7 separate regions of the Homo sapiens genome follow, and regions 2, 3, 4, 5, 6 and 7 are each linked to region 1. The links are contacts of gene promoters, found by promoter capture Hi-C in blood cells and fetal thymus (Javierre and others, 2016). All regions are on one chromosome and are shown on one strand. Each heading gives the region's core, a stretch centred on a gene start or on the middle of the fragment in contact. The rest is flanking DNA. Distances are from core to core; before and after follow the strand shown.

The links. The method cuts DNA at HindIII sites, captures the fragments that hold promoters and counts their contacts. A CHiCAGO score of 5 or more calls a contact.
Region 2: a fragment that was not itself captured here is called in contact with the fragment with the promoter of NDUFS4 in region 1 in 1 of 17 cell types (erythroblasts); the score reaches 6.8 in erythroblasts.
Region 3: a fragment that was not itself captured here is called in contact with the fragment with the promoter of NDUFS4 in region 1 in 1 of 17 cell types (erythroblasts); the score reaches 5.1 in erythroblasts.
Region 4: a contact is called between a fragment that was not itself captured here and the fragment with the promoter of NDUFS4 in region 1, in 7 of 17 cell types (megakaryocytes, endothelial precursors, naive B cells and 4 more). The highest score is 9.2, in megakaryocytes.
Region 5: a fragment that was not itself captured here is called in contact with the fragment with the promoter of NDUFS4 in region 1 in 8 of 17 cell types (erythroblasts, M2 macrophages, M0 macrophages and 5 more); the score reaches 11.8 in erythroblasts.
Region 6: a contact is called between a fragment that was not itself captured here and the fragment with the promoter of NDUFS4 in region 1, in 5 of 17 cell types (endothelial precursors, M2 macrophages, naive B cells and 2 more). The highest score is 7.9, in endothelial precursors.
Region 7: a contact is called between a fragment that was not itself captured here and the fragment with the promoter of NDUFS4 in region 1, in 2 of 17 cell types (endothelial precursors and total CD4 T cells). The highest score is 5.7, in endothelial precursors.

Annotation. Positions count from the first base shown.
Region 1 is chr5:53,559,372-53,561,896 of GRCh38, forward strand. NDUFS4 (NADH:ubiquinone oxidoreductase subunit S4) reads left to right here and starts at 1,268. Exons shown (of 5, transcript NM_002495.4): 1 at 1,268-1,389. The coding sequence starts at 1,292. RefSeq lists an enhancer at 1,170-1,669. The HindIII fragment of the contact is 3,063 bases long and covers 1-1,416 here.
Region 2 is chr5:54,320,456-54,322,980 of GRCh38, forward strand. LINC01033 (long intergenic non-protein coding RNA 1033) reads left to right here and starts at 489. Exons shown (of 5, transcript NR_126379.1): 1 at 489-543. The HindIII fragment of the contact is 582 bases long and covers 978-1,559 here.
Region 3 is chr5:54,249,383-54,251,907 of GRCh38, forward strand. All of the region lies in intron 1 of ARL15 (ARF like GTPase 15), which reads right to left. Among named protein-coding and RNA genes, the nearest start is that of ARL15, 60 kb to the right of the region's middle. The HindIII fragment of the contact is 1,094 bases long and covers 710-1,803 here.
Region 4 is chr5:54,232,697-54,235,221 of GRCh38, forward strand. All of the region lies in intron 1 of ARL15 (ARF like GTPase 15), which reads right to left. Among named protein-coding and RNA genes, the nearest start is that of ARL15, 77 kb to the right of the region's middle. The HindIII fragment of the contact is 1,062 bases long and covers 729-1,790 here.
Region 5 is chr5:54,210,250-54,212,774 of GRCh38, forward strand. All of the region lies in intron 1 of ARL15 (ARF like GTPase 15), which reads right to left. Among named protein-coding and RNA genes, the nearest start is that of ARL15, 99 kb to the right of the region's middle. The HindIII fragment of the contact is 5,856 bases long and covers 1-2,525 here.
Region 6 is chr5:54,193,069-54,195,593 of GRCh38, forward strand. All of the region lies in intron 1 of ARL15 (ARF like GTPase 15), which reads right to left. Among named protein-coding and RNA genes, the nearest start is that of ARL15, 120 kb to the right of the region's middle. The HindIII fragment of the contact is 889 bases long and covers 821-1,709 here.
Region 7 is chr5:54,174,324-54,176,848 of GRCh38, forward strand. The region is part of intron 1 of ARL15 (ARF like GTPase 15); the gene reads right to left. Among named protein-coding and RNA genes, the nearest start is that of ARL15, 130 kb to the right of the region's middle. The HindIII fragment of the contact is 1,712 bases long and covers 408-2,119 here.

The DNA of each region.
Region 1 (2,525 bases), core at 18-2,517:
ACTAGGGAGATCTTTGTGAGGGTGGAATAGTTCTGTATCTTGATCATGGTGGTGGTTACACAAAATATGTAGTAGAATGACATAGGACTACACAAATACTTTATATCAATGCCAGTTTCCTGGCTTTGATACTGTACTAGAGTTATACGAGATGTAATCACTGGGGGAAACAGGTACACAAGACATCTGTACTATCTTTGCAACTTCATGTGAATCTATAACTATTTCAAAATGAAAAGTTTGAAAGAAAATTTTCTCTGAGGCATCTCTCCCTTGCCTTCCTTCATCTTGTGCATTTCTTTCCCTGAGTATGACTTTTTCTCTTTCTTTCTCCCTTTCCCTTATGTACTGGGTTTTCCTTTAACGGTCCATAATGCCAAACTATGTCATTCCCCATCCTCCTATTGTTCCTATTTATTTAATGAAGGTTATGTTTTCATGTGCTTAATTTTAAAAGCAGGAAAGTACTAACTCTTTAAACAAATTTCTTAAAAAACAAAACCCAAAACTAACCTGCTTTTTATTTTATATAATTCAGTTAGTCATTATTCTTTAAGGTCGGAAGTCCACAATACAAACATGTTTCCAACACTTGTATTGGAAGATAATTTTTGTTTTATATGCATGGAGCATTAATATCATTCTTCATGTCTATGGATTATGAACACACACACATTCAGGATTTACTGGGGAAACAGTGACATCAAATATTATGTTCTATTGATTCTTCATATAAATCTACATGTCAAAAAATAATCCTTTGCCAGATCACGTATCCAGATTTTTCGTTTGGAAAATACGAACATTACTACTACAGAATATCAAACTGAATACAGCCCTGTCCTGAGGGCTTGCAAAGTGAATCTGGCAATACTTTGGAAAAGTACTACTGCAGGTTCTCAAGGACCCAAAGAGCTCTCCAGCTTTTCCAGTGGGTTCAGCCCCAAATATCCTAATTTCTTCAATAAATTACGAGTTGCAGGTGTTTAAATATGCAAGTATATTTTGGTCTTTTCGTTATCATTGTAAAACACCAGTCCTAACAAGCAGTAAAGATTACACTTTATGGTGGTAATATTTACAGTTAATGCACTTCTGCATTTCTTCCCGCACATTTTTCTTCTTACTTATTTAAACTAAGCGTTTCCCCTCTTTTTTTAAGCCCCAGTATTAAAAAGAAAATAAAATCCCAAAGAATTTCGCAACATTGCGATTGCACTGGCTTGAGAACGAAGGAAGTTAGTCCCTTGCGGTGATCCGTCCTTTCATCCTGGCGTTTGCCTGCAGCAAGATGGCGGCGGTGTCAATGTCAGTGGTACTGAGGCAGACGTTGTGGCGGAGAAGGGCAGTGGCTGTAGCTGCCCTTTCCGTTTCCAGGGTTCCGACCAGGTAATAGAATTTTCACACTTTTCTTCAAGCTTCTTGGGTCCCTCCATTTTTGCGGAGTCTCTGCTGGCTGAGTTCCGGAGGAGGCCTCGGGGAAGGCGTCCTCTGTTGACCCTTTTCTCGGGAGAAGTCGGGCGGACTAGGGACTGTCTGCTATCAATGGGCGTTGGCCAGGCGAGTGAGGGCGTGAGTGCGAGGCCGGGGAGGAGGACCTGTGGTTTTCTGGAAGCTTTCGTATTCGGCTTGTCGCTGAGGGAGAGGGTCCGTGGAGGTTTTGCCTCCGGAGCTGCAAGCTGAACCTTAGCCCTCAGAGAAGGGGAGGAGTCTCACTGATTTCTGTTTCCACTTTCTGCATCCCTTCCATTTGTCACCTGTTTGCCCACCACTCCAGTCCTTACAGAAGGGTTAAATCACTGTATCCCTTCCATGGTTTTAAGTGGTTTTAATTTGGTTTCTGCATAGGAAGATTGTTTATTCATCAGTCTGCTTGGGAGGAAAACTTGTTTGGAATTCAGTGTTAGTAAAAATATCACTGCTAGTAATATTGGAAGGTAATTTTTAAAAGGCTGGTGGTAATGCCTGGAGGTTTTCTAGGGATTTTGTTAAAGCCTCACAATAATTCAGGGATTGAATTGAGTTGTTGAGGGCTCTTTGCGTCCTTGAGAACCTAAAGTAGTACTTTTCCAAAGTATTGTCAGATTCAGTTGTCAGTTGATTGAGTTGTTACTGTTTTTCCTTGAAGCATTTTTGTGATGATTTTTTTTTTTTTGGCTGTATTAACCTTCCATTTTCTATTTTTCAGAATTTCCTGGAGTTTTTTAAATTATAGTACTAATGCTATACGTACATACACACACATATTAGAACAAAGATTGGAAAGACTGGATGGAGAGATTTGAAGGGGGTAGGAGGTGGATGCAAGTGGTTAAAAGTTGAAAGGAAGGTCTAGTAGAATGCTAATTGATTTAGTGTTAAATATAAATGGAATGCAGAGAATTAGGATGAGTTAATTCGGAAGAATTTTTAAGGATGAGTTTTATTAAGGTTTAAATATAGTGGGTGTTGGGTGGGAAAGAAGAGAGTGTCCCGTAGGGTCCGTGGCTTATGAAAAGGCTTGAAAGCATTAGTTAAACGATTAC
Region 2 (2,525 bases), core at 19-2,518, 760 kb after region 1:
CTCCTCTGTTTTATTGATCTGTTTATTCTGTGACAATACGGAACACATCAGTCTGTTTTTTTCTTTTCTCTCTAACCTGACCACAATTCCTTTTATGTATATTGGCTTCATTGTCAATACTGCAAGAAATAATTTTTGGAAGCAAAAGGCAAAGCATTGAGTTTCTAAGTTCAGGGTTCTCTTTGGCAGGAGACTGGAGGAGTCTGTGCGCACCCACACCAGTAACTGTGTTCCTTCCTGAATGCATTAATCGTGGCATACTACTGTTCTCCTTTTCTGCTCATTCCTTCAAATGTGCCTTTCCATTCAGTACTAGTCTGCAAAGCCTATAATGAAACAAAGGAGGAAATCCTTGTGATTTAATTTTGCTTTCAAAATAAATTATTTTAAAGTTTAATACTCCAGAAGCAGTTTAATTAATTAATTAATTAATTTCATTTTTTTATTTTTTGACACAGGGTCTCACTTCACCCAGGCTGGAATGCAGTGGTGTGATCACAGCTCACTATAGTCTCGATCTCCTGGGCCTCCCACATCAGCCTTGTAAGTAGCTGGGACCACATAATGTTTAAATTTTTTGTTAATACAGGATCTCACTATGTTGCCTAGGCTAGTCTCAAACTCCTGGCCTCAAGCGATCTTCCTGCCTCTGCTTCCCAAAGTGCTGGGATTATAGGCATGAGCCACCGTGCCTGGCCCAGAGACAGTTTACTTTTAAATCAATTGCTTAAACCTGACGTTACTCTTCTTAGAAAGAAAAGAGGGCATTTAAGAAAAAAAAAATTGCATAAGAATTAACTATTATCTTAATAATTAATTAACTAATGGGTTCATGAAAGACACTAACACATTCATGAGAGCCAAGCTTTTCCAATGCTTTCCCTGTCTCCTTGCCATGACCTTGAAGTCTTTGCCTGCATCTTGTGTTTAATGCCATGCCATGTAGACTGATTCATTGTAATGCTTTGTCCTTGAGAAGCTTTTCTTCAAATAGGAATCTCTAACATAATTGTGGTTTTTTATGTACCTGAGTAGTGTTGAATTCTCTGGGCAAATGAGAGCTAGAGAAGACAGTACTGTATGCTTGCTGCCAAAGTACATCAGTGAATGGACGTGTTCTGGACGTGCTTATTCCACCAAGGCCTCTCTTTATTCCCTTTGTGTGTGTGTATGTTCTGGTACACGTTATGGCTGACTGATGGTGTGCCTGTGGTACTATTAGACCTGCTGGAAGACATCAAGGAAGAACAGCATGCTAGATATTATACCATATCTTCCTACTTCTCAGGCTGCCTCCAAGGTAATAGTTCAGAGAACAGAAGCAATTTGGAATTGGTAGAAATCATTTTGGCATTACAAAGGGCATCATAATGTTACAGACTAAGAGGTTTGGCTAGTTTTCTTAATAGGAAATGAAAGAAGCAATGGACCAAGGCATGTGACTTCATGAGATTTCAAATGGTCTAAAGAGTAATGGCTAACTTACCACACCATAATCACATGCGGTGGCACAGCTATTTCATATAATTCTGATCCAGTTAGCTCAAGGGTTAAGATCAAGCTTTGTCAGAAGACAGAGCTAAATTTCAATCCCAGGTGCTTTATTAGCTGTGTGACCTTAAGAAGGATACTTAACCTCTGAAACTCAGTTATCTCATCTTTAAAATGGAAATTAAAAACAATATAGGTAATTTCTTCAAGGTTGTTGTAAGGATTAAAAACAAATATGGCCTGGTGAGGTGGCTCATGCCTGTAATCCCAACACTCTGGGAGGCCGAGGTGGGTGGATCACTTGAGGTCAGGAGTTCAAGACCAGCCTGGCCAACATGGTGAAACTCCATCTGTACTAAAAATGCAAAATTAGCTGGGCATGGTGGCTCACTTGTAATCCCAGTTACTTGGAAAGCTGAGGCAGGAGAATCGCTTGAACCTGGGAGGCAGAGGTTGCAGTGAACCAAGATTGCACCACTGCACTCCAGCCTGGGTGACAGAGCGAGACTCCATCTTAAAAAAAATAAATAAATAAAATACTTTTTAAAAAATAATAAAACAAAAACAAATATACTGAACACTGAAGTGCTGGCTATCCTATGTACTGAAAGCCTTGTTGGAGGAATTGTGTTTTTATAGACAGTGCCTTTGACTTAGTCTGGAGAAGTAGAAGAATCCTGCTTCCACCATTGACTTTTAAGGATCTCAGGAAAATTATTCCACTTTGGAGTTACAGTATCATCTTTAAAATGTTGATGAAATAAAGCAAAGTAAGCAAAAGGGAAAATTAAAGGGCAGCAGAGAGATGATGGCTTTGTTGATTCTTCTCTGCAGCATAACTCAGAATCAGAAGAAATGGTAAGATGGGCAATCCAGGAATAGTAAGCTGGCTTTGTGTGCCACTAAGCTCTATATTTTGTATTACCTATATGGAAGCCATAAGATGCATCCGTAGGAGACCCTCTGCTGCAACTAAAGTGAGTGATCAATCATTAAATTTCTCAAACGTTTCAACAGGCTGCTTGGTTCATTTG
Region 3 (2,525 bases), core at 7-2,506, 690 kb after region 1:
GAGAAGGTATTTTTCAGAATAGAAGATACTTGAGTCAACGAAGAAGGAAAGACAGAAGAAGATATAAGAGGAAGTGAAGATAACAGAGAAAAAAGTTCAGAAGGGAACGGGAAGAGTAGAGGTAACCAATTAACCTTGGGAATAAGGAAGGAGAGAGATAGGTAACAATATACAGAAACACTTGAAGGAGAGTAAAAGTGCAAGAATTCCCATCTCTAGTTTCTAAGTGAAGGAGTTCATGAGGTCATATCTGAGAGTAAGAAAGGAGAAGTGTGGTTGTGGTTAAGAGCAAAAAAAAAAAAAAAAAAAACTTTAACAGCTGTAGGAGAAAAGAAGGAAATCAATCCCTAGTTGTCTGAGGAATACACAGAATTCCTAAGGCACGACAGAGGAGCCAGGAGAGCTTGTAAGTAATTAATCAGTATCAAAGCCAGCCAACAGGGCTATAGCAGTTTCTGTCACACAGCAATTGGCAGCCTGCCAGGAGAAAAACCGAGTTAGAGTGGCTGTGCCTGGGACTGCATCTCAAGGGTCCTGTGGAGAATATATTCAATGACTGGTCATAGGGTGTGTCAGACCATTTTTGCATTGCTATAAAGAAATATCTGAGTTTGGGTAATTTATAAGAAAAGAGGTTTAATTGGCTCACAGTTCTGCAGGCTGTACAGGAAGCATGGCACTGGCATCTGTTTCTGGTGAGGTCTCAGGAAGCTTACAATCATGGCAGAAGGCTAGCAGGGAGCAGGCCTGTCACATGGCAGGAGTGGGAGCAAGAGGTGGGGGTCGAGGGAGGCACCACACACCTTTAAACAACCAGATTTCCTGAGAGCTCACTATCATGAGGACAGCACCAAGAGGACAGCATCAAATCAACCATAAGAAATCCACCCCCACAATCCAACCACCCCTACCAGGCCCCACCTTCAACACGAGGAACCACACTTCAACATGAGACTTGGGGGGACAAACACCCAAACCATATCACAGGGCTTCTGGCTAAGCAGGGAAATAAAAGCAGCAGGTTTGGGTGAGGCTGACAGAATTGGAGAACAGGAAAGAGATCAGATTTTCAAAATCAGCATGATGATGAGAAGCAAGTTTAGTTAAAGTTGGAGAAGAAAATACCTGATTGTGCAGTCTCTGAAGTGGGAAGAACAAGGTTCAGTAAGTTCTGAGGAGTAGAAATGAAGGTCGCTAAGAGACGAAGGTCTGTGATTTTGGTGGTCTTGATGAGAGACATGATGGTGGAGAGAGGGAGAAGTACAGGGACATGGGTAGTAGGGACGGGACCAAAAAAAACACCAAGAGCTGGTGACAAAGGGCCATTGAAGATGGAGCAGAGTCCACAGGTCCTGGGGGCAGCCTGGAGGGAGAACCATGTTGGCTGTGAAACTAACTGGAAATCCCACATCTTCTGATCCCAGAACAACCCAGCTCTGGAGAGATCTAGACTTACAAGTAGGCACAGTGAAGGTCACTAGGGTCACCATTTTAGTCTACCTGAAACACAATTCACTCTCTGAAAGAAGTTATAAAAAGCAAGGTCCACCTCCTAACAGTGACAGGCTAACTTTATTTAACTAAATATAGTTTTACTATATTTAGTAATCTAACTTCAAATGCTTTCAATCAGATGCTATATTAAATTGAATCAGCCTATCTTCCTAATTATTAAGCATGGCTTGGAAAAGCTGAAGGAAACACAACACTGCTAATTTGCACAGAGGCTTAGAAAGTGATTCACTTGAAAGCCCCTCCCCTAATTCAGGTAAGAAGGAAGAAGATAAGTAAACAATGATGTAAAGCTTTAATTACTGGCTCACACTTTTTATGATAAAACACACACTGCAAAATTCTAAGGTGGCCAAACAACTCTTAAGCATGCTTTGAACTTTAGTGCAAAGAAAGAGATACGTCTGTAGGCTTTTGACAAACATCTAGGTATTTTCATTTAATTTTCCCACTCTTGTTTGTTGAGTATGTTTTTCCACAAGCAGAATTAAATTAAGGAAAGCCAGGCTTTTTAAAAAGTAATTGAATATTAGCATTAGTCAACAGCAACAGTTTGTAATATGGTATTTCCACTGCAGCACCTAGGGATGGCAGAAAACGGAGGCTGCTGATAAACTGTACTGGCATCTTATCTGTACCCTTACTAGATTTCTAAAGTTTATTTAAATGGTTATTCTGTATCTGTGTCTCATAAAGGGATGTCATCAGAACTGCCACCTAAGGAGCTATTCCTAAAGACCTCAGACCTACTGATTCAGAATCTCCAAGAATAAGGATCCAACAAGTAGATTTTAACTTCTTCAGTGTCCACCACACTGTCCTGTTTAAGAACACCTGTAGTGTAATAAGGTAAGCATGAAGTGTCCCCAATTAAGAACACAATCAGCTTTAGAGCAGTGGTTCTCAGCCTTGTCTGCACAATAGAATCACCCTGGAGGACATTAAAAAATCCCAATGCTAGGCCACACCACAAACCAATTAGTACATCAGAATCCCTGGGGTAAGACCTAGAT
Region 4 (2,525 bases), core at 10-2,509, 670 kb after region 1:
GGACCTCTCCGGTCTGCTCTGCCTTCAAGACACATTCTTTTCTCCTCTGATTTCCTCTATTCCCACAAGAGCCATCAATTGGAGTCTACCCTCAGCCCCTTGTTCGGCTGACACTCATGTTCACCCCTGCCCTCATACACCATCCTTGTTTGCAATGGCTTCACAACACCCAGTTCTATGCTTCTCCTAGTCCAGCCGTTTTCAATGTGTGCATGGACTCCTGAGGGTCCCCAAGACCCTTTCAGAGGATCTGCAGGATCAAAACTAATGTCATCATACTAAGACATTATTTACCTCTTGCATTGTGTTTGCATTAACATTGATGGAGAGAGTGAGTGAGTGAAACTGCTGGCCCTTTAGCACAAATCATGCTGGTGGCACCAAACTCTACCAGCTGCCATTGTGTTTTACATAAAAATGGCCTTGATGAAGCAGTAAACTATCAATTTTATTAAATCTTGACACGTTACTATTCTGTGTGATGAAATACATACAAAACATTTCTGCTCTATGTAAAAGTCTAAGGGTTGTCTCAAGGAAAAGTACTCGTGAACCTAACTAACTTCTCTTTTCATGGAACACCATTTTTACTTGAAAAAATGACTTACAGGCAAACTATAATTATTCGAACTTGGGTATTTCACAGATATTTTCTTAAAAATAAATGAAGTGGGCATGTCAATTCAAGGAAAACAACTGTTAGTATTTGTTGCCAGTGATAAAATTCAAGCTTTCAAATGAAAATTAAATTCTTAGAAAACTTGTATCTGCCATCATGAACTTGACATATTTACAAGACTGATATTGTGTTAACATTTGGAAGATTTACATAACTAGATGAACCAATATTTTCCAAGACCAATGTGTAATATTACAAAGTCATGCCTGAGCAAAAGAGTCTTTCAAGGTCCAAGAGAGACTACTGGCTTTTAACATAACTAACTAGAATAAGTTCACTGATATGGTTTCAGGTTCCACATGGCAACTAGCCCCTAAGGAACTACCATTTGATTGTTTAGATATAGAATCACAGAAGACTACTCACAATTATCAGAAAAGGCTATTAAAATATTCTTTTCCAACTTCATAGCTGCGTGGGGTTGAATTTTCTTCACATACTTTAACCAAAACACACAACAGATTAAATGCAGAGGCAAATATGAGACTCTAGCTGCCCTCTATTAACCCAGACATTAAAAAGATCTGCAAAGAGGTAAAACAATGCCATTTTCTCACTAATTTTTGTTTTGGAAAATATAGTTCTTTTTCATTTAAATGTTATTCATATTAACATGTAATGGGTTTATTTTTATTTATTTTTTGAGACAGTCTCGCTCTGTTGCCAGGCTGGTACAACGGCAAGATCTCAGCTCACTGCAACCTCTGCTTCCCTGATTCAAGCAATTGTCCTGCCTCAGCTTCCCAAGTAGCTGGGATTATAGGCGCGTGCCACCAAGCCCGGCTAATTTTTTTATTTTTGTAGAGATGGGGTTTCTCCATGTTGGCCAGGTCTCGAACTCCTGGCATCAGGTGATCCGCCCGTTTCAGCCTCCCAAAGTGCTGGGATTACAGGCTTGAGCCACCAGGCCTGGCCCGTTACTATTGTTATTTTTAAATGCATTAGTAAAAAAAAAAAAAATTTTAATTGCTAGAACATTAAATATCAATACCCACATTAATAAAAGCTATTTGGGAGCCTTAATAATTATCAATGGTGTAAAGGGGTCCTGAGACCAAAAAGTTTGACTTCACCAGGTGTTTGAACACTACAGATCCCATCTTGCCCATGAAGCTTCCCTAGACATCCCCACCCCACCGTGCTCCCTTCTGCATCCTACAATAGCATCCACTGGTAAGGCCACTATTTTAATAATGATATGGTTGCTTTATACTAATGAATTATGTTTTTGTACAACAGTCTCCTAGTGTCCATGTTTAAGAATTTAAGGGACTTTGCTTTCCAAAGCTGTTAACCCAACTAGCTCTGTGAAAGTGAAACAAAATTATGGACTTAAATTTCTGTCTGTGTCAAAAAAGAGTAAAATGCACCCTCTAGTGGACTTGTAAGCTCACAGAACACAAAATAAATTTATTGGATTGTCAGAAGAATTACAACTCCGTCCCAGAAAATTCAGATTATAAAATAATAATATATGAGCATAGGGAAATTAATTTTAATTTTTTGATAATATGTTTTTAAAAGAGCTAAGAAAATGTGAAACCAAATCTAGTTTGAATGTAGTTCATAACTAAATGCAAAAGTAAACCTGAGGTCACACACAAAAAACTTCTTTCTTAAATTCCTATGAATTGATTATACATCGGCTATCCAAAATAATCTGTTCAAATTATGTCTTATTAACTACTTATAACTTTAAATACATAGAAGCATTAACATGGATAAAGTTGGGATTATTATTAGTTCAATTTCCAAATATTAAAACTACACTCAACTTACAACCTGGGCATTCCAATGGCCTTCACAAAATCTGAAAAAGGACCTTTGAAGGATAAGAACCAATGCT
Region 5 (2,525 bases), core at 12-2,511, 650 kb after region 1:
ACCATAAAATCCTCCCAATCAAATTATAATTTTCTTTTTCATGAACTATATTTCTTAAGCAAGGCAAGAACATTTTATTAAAAATAATGCCTATTATCTATTTTATTTTACTATAATCCACTCACTTTCCAGCCAATTTGCTCCGAATATTCTCTTGGAAACTTGTACTTCAAGACAATGGCTTCACTCATTACGTTATTTCAACAAAATGATAAATGTATTGTGAAATATATTATATTTGATTATCAAGCTAAAGCATTGCAAATGGCCATCACAGAACCCAAATTCACCCATAACATTCTATCCCCCAGAATAGTCCTCTGACAACAAATGATAACTGTACATGACAAATCCTTTGAGGCATCTGGGCCTTAAAAATTAAAGGGCCATTCTGACTAAAGTATGTTGATTTTCCAAAGGAAGTTTTGTTGCAGTTGTTGCTGCTGTTGCTATTATTTGAATTGACTAATCCTCAAGTAGGTTCTAGCCACCCTGAAGAATATTTACAAATACAAATATATTAGAATTGAAAGAGACCTTATATGCCACATAGTTCAATCTCTTTTCCTTGAGATGCAAAACTGTGGCACAGAGAAGTTAATTCAGTTGACAAACAACTCATGGTTAATTCAGTCTCATAGAACCCAATCTAGTGCTTTTTCTGCAATAACACATTACAGAGTCTGCAAAACCAGCACAATTACTACCTGACACTGTCAGCAAACAAAATGAAAATACACATATTTTAATAAGTAGTTTTTGCTTATTTTTGCAGTCACACATAAGATGTTATATCTTTACACAAAACGAAACTAGGATTATTTTTATTGTTCAAAAGACAGACTGTCCAATTATAGCTATTACTGAACTAGAAATGTATTTTCAGTTTATCTTCCCAAATCAAGTTAGTGGTTTGTTTGGTATGCACAAAGTATTCCAAAATGTCACAGAGTGGGGGCTATTGCAGGGTTTTCTCCTGCTTCCACCAGACCACAAAGGGCAACAAGTTTGGAGGGGACAGGAAGGTTGGGAGCAGAATACAAGGAGCTGTAGAGCTGTTCTATCGGTTCAGGTTTTAAGATCCATGAATAGACCCTACTCACCGAGTGAAAGCCCTGACAATTTTATCTGAGCATTAGAAAATAATTCCTTGGGCAGTTAAAAGATTGGAATATCAAAGAGCTGACATTAGTTTTAGGCAGCGCTTAAATGAAACACTTTTTTTTTTTTTTTTTTTTGAGACAGAGTTTCACTTTTGTCACCCAGGCTGGAGTGCAGTGGTGCAATCTCAGCTCACGGCAACCTCTGCCTCCCAGGTTCAAGCGATTCTCCTGCCTCAGCCTCGCGAGTAGCTGGGAATACAGGTGCCCGCCACCATACCTGGCTAATTTTTTGTATTTTTAGTAGAGACAGGGTTTTGCCATGTTGGGCAGGCTGGTCTTGAACTCCTGACCTCAGGTGATCCGACCGCCTCAGTCTCCCAAAGTGCTGGGATTACAGGCACGAGCCACCGTGACCGGCCAAATGAAATACTTTTATACTCTTATCTTACTTTTAAAAAGAATATGATAATCAGAGAGTTCAGGAAGGAAATAAAGAGGAGTAGATAAAGTCCAAAATGAGGAATATGCTTATCTGGAGCACACCTACTTAACCAGAAAAGAGTAATTTGAGTAGGAAGAAATGCCAAGTCACTAATTTGTTTAAGGATCTTGGTTATTGGTTGATTCCATTAGGAATGTGTCTGGCTACAAGTAACAGAAAATTCATGTTAGGTGCTTTAAACGGCATCACCAAACCTAAAGGGCCAGAGAGTAAATATTTAAGACCTGCAGGCCATATAGTCTCCGTCACAATTACTCAACTCTGTCATAGCATGAAGGCAGCCACAGTCAATACGTGGCTGTGTTTCAGTAACACTTTACTTACAAAAATAGGCAATCAGCCAATGGGTCATAATTTGCCAACCAATGGTTTAACCAAAATGTCAATCCCTGGTTTAAACAAATGAGACTTAATTAAAAAGAAGCTGGCCTTTTTTGTAAGGTAGTAAGAAGGGCACATCAGCTCCAGATGTCACATTTCTGTTTAAGAAGAGGAAAAGGGAAAAGGAAGGTAGAAAAGGGAAAAGGCCACATCTGTCCCTTTTCACAGGAAAGCAAAAACTTTCCCCACAGAACCTCAAGCAGACCCCCTCCCCCATAAGATCACTAGTCAGAACCGAGCAACACAGCCACATCTAGTTGTAAGAGAAGCTGAGAAAACAGGGAACACAGGAGTCTAAGTGGCTTAGACCAATCATGGTTCATTCATTGCCTGGGGCTAGACACATTGCTGCCTCAGACCAGGGTATTTTAGCAAGAAGGATAAATGGCTATTGGGTGTACAATGAACAGTGTTTGTCCTGTTGGACTATTTTTTCTGTTTTCTCTATTGGCATAATCTGCTCAAAGAAAATATGCTTTCTTAGCTGTGAACTAATTAGTCAAATGGAGATTGAGAAAGATTAAGCATGTTTGGTGGTA
Region 6 (2,525 bases), core at 15-2,514, 630 kb after region 1:
GAGAGCCAAACTAGAGTTTTTAAACTTCCTGTTAAACATCTCTATCTAGATCTCCCTTAAGTACTCTCAAACTAATAAAAATCCAATTTCAGTATCAATCCTACCACCCACAAAAGAAACTTGTTCCTTCTTTCTATATTTCCTATTTCAGTAAATTGCAGCATCATCCAATCCATCATCCAAAGCTTATCCTCAATCCTGTGTCTCTCACAATGTCCAAAATTGATACAAGTCTCTTACTTGTATTGATTTCACCTCTTAAATATTTCTGTAATACTCTAATCCAGGGGTCCTCAACCCCCAGGCAGTGAACCGGTACTGGTCCATGGCCTGTTCGGAACCAGGCCTCACAGCAGGAGGTAAGCAGCAGGTGAGCAAGGGAGCATTGTGGCTTGAGCTCTGCTTCCTATCAGATCAGCTACAGCATTAGATTCTCATAGAAGCGGGAACCCTACTGTGAACTGCACATGTGAAGGATCTAGGTTGCTTATGAGAATCTAATGCCTGATGATGTGAGGTGGAACAGCATCACCCTGAATCCATCCCCTCCACCCCAGTCGATAGAAAAACTGTCTTCCACAAAACTGGTCCCTGGCATCAAAAAGCTTGGGGACCTGTGCTCTAATCTATTCCTATTGTTTTACAATAAAGCCTTCATTTTTTTTTTTTTTTCCAGAACTGTAACTACTTCGACTTATGTACTCTGCCTAGCACATCATAGGTGCTCAATAAATATTTGTTGATTTCCTGAAATAGCTCACATGGCTCTGTTATAAATTGCTCAGATCTAGGTTTATAAAATTAATGCTTTCCCTTAAAAAGCTTGGTTGAATTTTTTTAAAAAACTGAATAATTGGGGGCTAGGATGATATTAAATAATTGGGGGCATGGATGATATTAAATACAGTTATTTAATAACTGTAAATAAAAACATACAAGTTCTGTTGGATGTGGGTGTCCCCTGGGAGACTATGGTAGTGAACACTAAAATCCTAATCGCCATGCATTGGAATTATTCCGACTATTACTTTCTTTAGTTCCTTCTTATCCACCCAGTCTTCTTTGAAAACATGTTTCCCCTTCATAATTTAGCTCTATATTGTCTAAAAGCTATAACTTCAATCAAAGAACTTAAGCATTTTTAAAGCCAACAAAATACATGACATCAATTATTATCAGAGGCATGGACCCACTGCGATGTTCATTTTGAACAAGACGAGATAAGTCATTCCTGGAAGAACATAGGCAAGGATAAAAGATGATTCAAGCCTAATATGCAAGGCTCCTCACCTCTCCATCATTTTTATGAGACCCACAACATAGTCTTAACCCCAATAACCTCCATACGGCCTCACCAAGAAAGGATAGAAAAGACCTCAGAAGTATTTTGGCCCTAAAACATTTTTGAATCAAGCTAGAGAAAGTTATGAAACTCAGTTGTCACACTTGACTTGCATCCAGAAACACAATTCAAATGAAGCATGTAGTCTAAATGGCTGATAGTTTTCAGCTGGCTGTACTTTCCAGCCACCTAATATGAAAAATCTAATCTCACCCTAATAAAAATCTTAGACCTGGCAAAAAAAGAAACATATAGCTTTGTGGTAACGTGAGGAGAGGAGGGAGGTAACAGAAATGGTAGAATGACCTCACAGGGTTTTGACTTTTAAACACTAATATTTATAGATTAAAAACTGTCTGAAAGGTTAAGCTTGGAAAGAATCTACTTCAGATACCTGATACAGCACAGGCACAAAATGAACCATGTTTGATCTAACTTGTACCAAGGGAGAATTTTACCTTTAGCTTTACCAACTTCCCAAGAGGACTTCTAGTCATGCTCCTTCAAATCCCAAAGGCCTGCGTAGTGAGGTATGCCACAAAGAGTAGGGTGTCTCAGTCCTCCTCTACTAGTAGATGGAAGTCACAAGGAGATATCTCGAGACATTCAGGATGTTTATTTACTCAGAAAGTAAATCTACATTCCTTTTGTCCAACAGGCAATATCATTCTTATTTCTCAAGGCCCAAGGTCCATAACTACTTCTCCCCACTTAAGGCTTACACTACATTCTGTACTCTCAAAATACTTAGTTAATGTTGCTAATGTACTATGTACTTCACTATGTACAAGCCAAATTAAGCCACCTGTGGTCAATATATACCTGGGCAGCAAGGCTCAAGATAGATCCTATATTCAGACATCATCAATGAAAATACAGAAAAAAATCAACCCAGACTTTACTGTATTTATCCTTTATTCATTAAGAAACATGCAAAAAGCTCAGGAGAATTTTAAAAGGTTACAAAACATGGTGATGGTTTAAATAGCTACTACAACAACTGAAGGCCCCACAGTCATTTCACAAACTAGAGAAGGAAATAATTTGCTCCTTCCACTAATCTGACAGTTGGCCCAACCTCTGATTTCAGGAGACCTTTTTTCTTTTATCTCTAGTCCACTTATAAGCACATATGAGGACACACACTTAATTTTTCTCTATTTTTTCTCATGTCTAAAGTAAT
Region 7 (2,525 bases), core at 14-2,513, 610 kb after region 1:
ACTTTTTCACTTCGCTTCAATGCCATTAGTTAGCCTAGTTCCCAAAAGAGTGGTTTTGGTGTACAGGATCAACTTTCTTGGTAAATTAGAGCTTCTTTTTGTCCTAAATTCACTTTTCCTCTGTTCTCAAGAGGTTCTGCCTGCTTCTGGTAAACAATTCTATGACCCATATTCTTCATGGGTTTATTCATGCTAATTGTATTTCCTCTCAGTCTTTTCAAGCCTGAGGAGTCCTACTTATTTCAGTCTGTCTTCATCCTATGAGATGTTCTTCTCTGATCTTCCTTTAGTTCCAGCACACCCTCTCCCACAAGATTAATGACCATAACTACTAACAGCATTCTAAACGCCAACACATCACTTCATGGATTCATATGAAGGCTGGCTGATACTGTCTGACTTTAACAAGCTTTTTTATAAAGTCTGTCTCCCAGACTCAGAATGAGAGTTTTTCTCAGAGATAGGTTTATTTGTGTATGTGTCTGTTCCCTCAAAGATGGCCATGGCTAGCAGCTGTTCAGACTTAGAAGTGGTCTTCCACATTCAATTAGGACAGACAACAAAACTAGTCACACAGTTTCTTTTACTGGGCTGCGTTGGTCTTGTTTGGGGTTCAAGGAGGAGAGATCCCATTCCTGCCCTAGAGGCCTTCATTCTCACTCAGCTCCTTGCCAGAATTCCTCTGGACTATCTCCTGGAGGAGGGCTGGCCTGACTACCCTGGCCCAAACTATCATAAACCTTAAATATCAAATGAAACTGTATGTGAATGATTGCTAGAGCATCCGGTTTAAATTATTCATGTCGTTATCACTCATATTTTTGCCAAACACTCCAGAATTTCATCTTCATGTTCTTTTTAAAATCCAGAGTAGAAAAACTTTGTAGCCAACTCCATTAATATCTATTTTACCTGTTTATTCTAGGTCACCTAAGCCACTTCTGACATAAAAGATGATTTTGCAATGATAGCAGTGATATTCTACTCCACTGTCTTTTCTCTTCTTTCTTTCTTTCTTTTTTTTTTTTCAGACAGAGTTTCACTCTTGTTGCCCGGGCTGGAGTGCAATGGCACAATCTCGGCTCACAGCAACCTCCACCTCCCGGGTTCAAGTGATTCTCGTGCCTCGGCTTCCTGAGTAGCTGGGATTACAGGTATGCGCCACCACACCCAGCTAATTTTTGTATTTTTAGTAGAGACGGGGTTTCACCATGTTGGCCAGGCTGGTCTTGAACTCTCGACTTCAGGTGATCCACTCACCTCAGCCTCCCAAAGTGCTGGGATTACAGGTGTGAGCCACCATGCCCAGCCTTCTCTTCTCTTTCTTTTTCTCTCTTTTTTTTTTTTTTAAGACAGTCTGTCTCTGTCACTCAGGCTGGAGTGCAGTGGTGCAATCTCCACTCACTGCAACCTCCAAATCCCAGGCTCAAGCAATCCTCCCACCTCAGCCTCCCGAGTAGCTGGGATTACAAGTGTGCACCACCACACCCAGCTAATTTTTGTATCTTTGTAGAGATGGGGTTTCACCATGTTGCTCAGGCTGGTCTCCATCTCCTGAGCTCAGGTGATCCACTCACCCCGGCTGCCCAAAGTGCTGAGATTACACACGTGAGCCACTGAGCCTGGTCTCTCTTCCCTTTTTATATTCTCACCAGTGATATCATCTCCAGTCCCATGGTTTCAATCATATAACCGAATGTCATAAGGACATCCAACATGACATCTCCCCCTCCGTCTCCCCAAGCTCTTTCTCTAAGTCCAGGCTCTATAGTTCCAGCTGTTCTATAAGAACCCAAACCAAAACTGAATAAAACAAAAGCCTCCCCACAAAACCACAGGCTGTGGAAATAAGGTTCTTTGGAACTTAATGGCTAGATTGATAGTTATTACAAGGCAAAATCTTTGACATAAATCACAGACTCTTAGAAATCAACATGTATTTGAACTGACTGAATAAATCATCCTATGGGTAACAGGAATAGTGTCAGATTTTGAGTCAACAAGATAAAACTTTCAACAGTATGCTACTTCCAATGGGGAAGGAATGGTCATGTTTTCTGAGTCAGTTCCTAAAAACTGTAAAGAGTTTTCATTTGTTTTTTGTTTTAAAACTTAATGAAGCTTTGGATCCTATAGTCAATTTACTTAAAATTACTCATTTTGGCCTCTAGACTATACTGTACCAAAGTTCATTGTGTGTGTCTCCTACAGCAGCTCTTGCATTGTTAAGAGTAAGCCCCTTTCACTGTTGTACAATGCGAAACACAATGCTGTCGGCAGTCCTGACAGCAAGCGGCAAACTCAGGCCTCATTCCCAGGCCAAACACTAAGGCATTGTGTAACTCTGTTCAAGCCTCATAAACCTATCCATGCTTCAGTTTCCCCACGATTAACCAGTAACATTTTAACACTCTCTGCCGCTTCCTTTCTTCAGGAGGATGTTATGAGGCCTGGGTGCAATACATCATGCTACTAAGAAAGGCGCCATACAGGTAAATAACTGCTCATTGCGATTTTCATTTTTC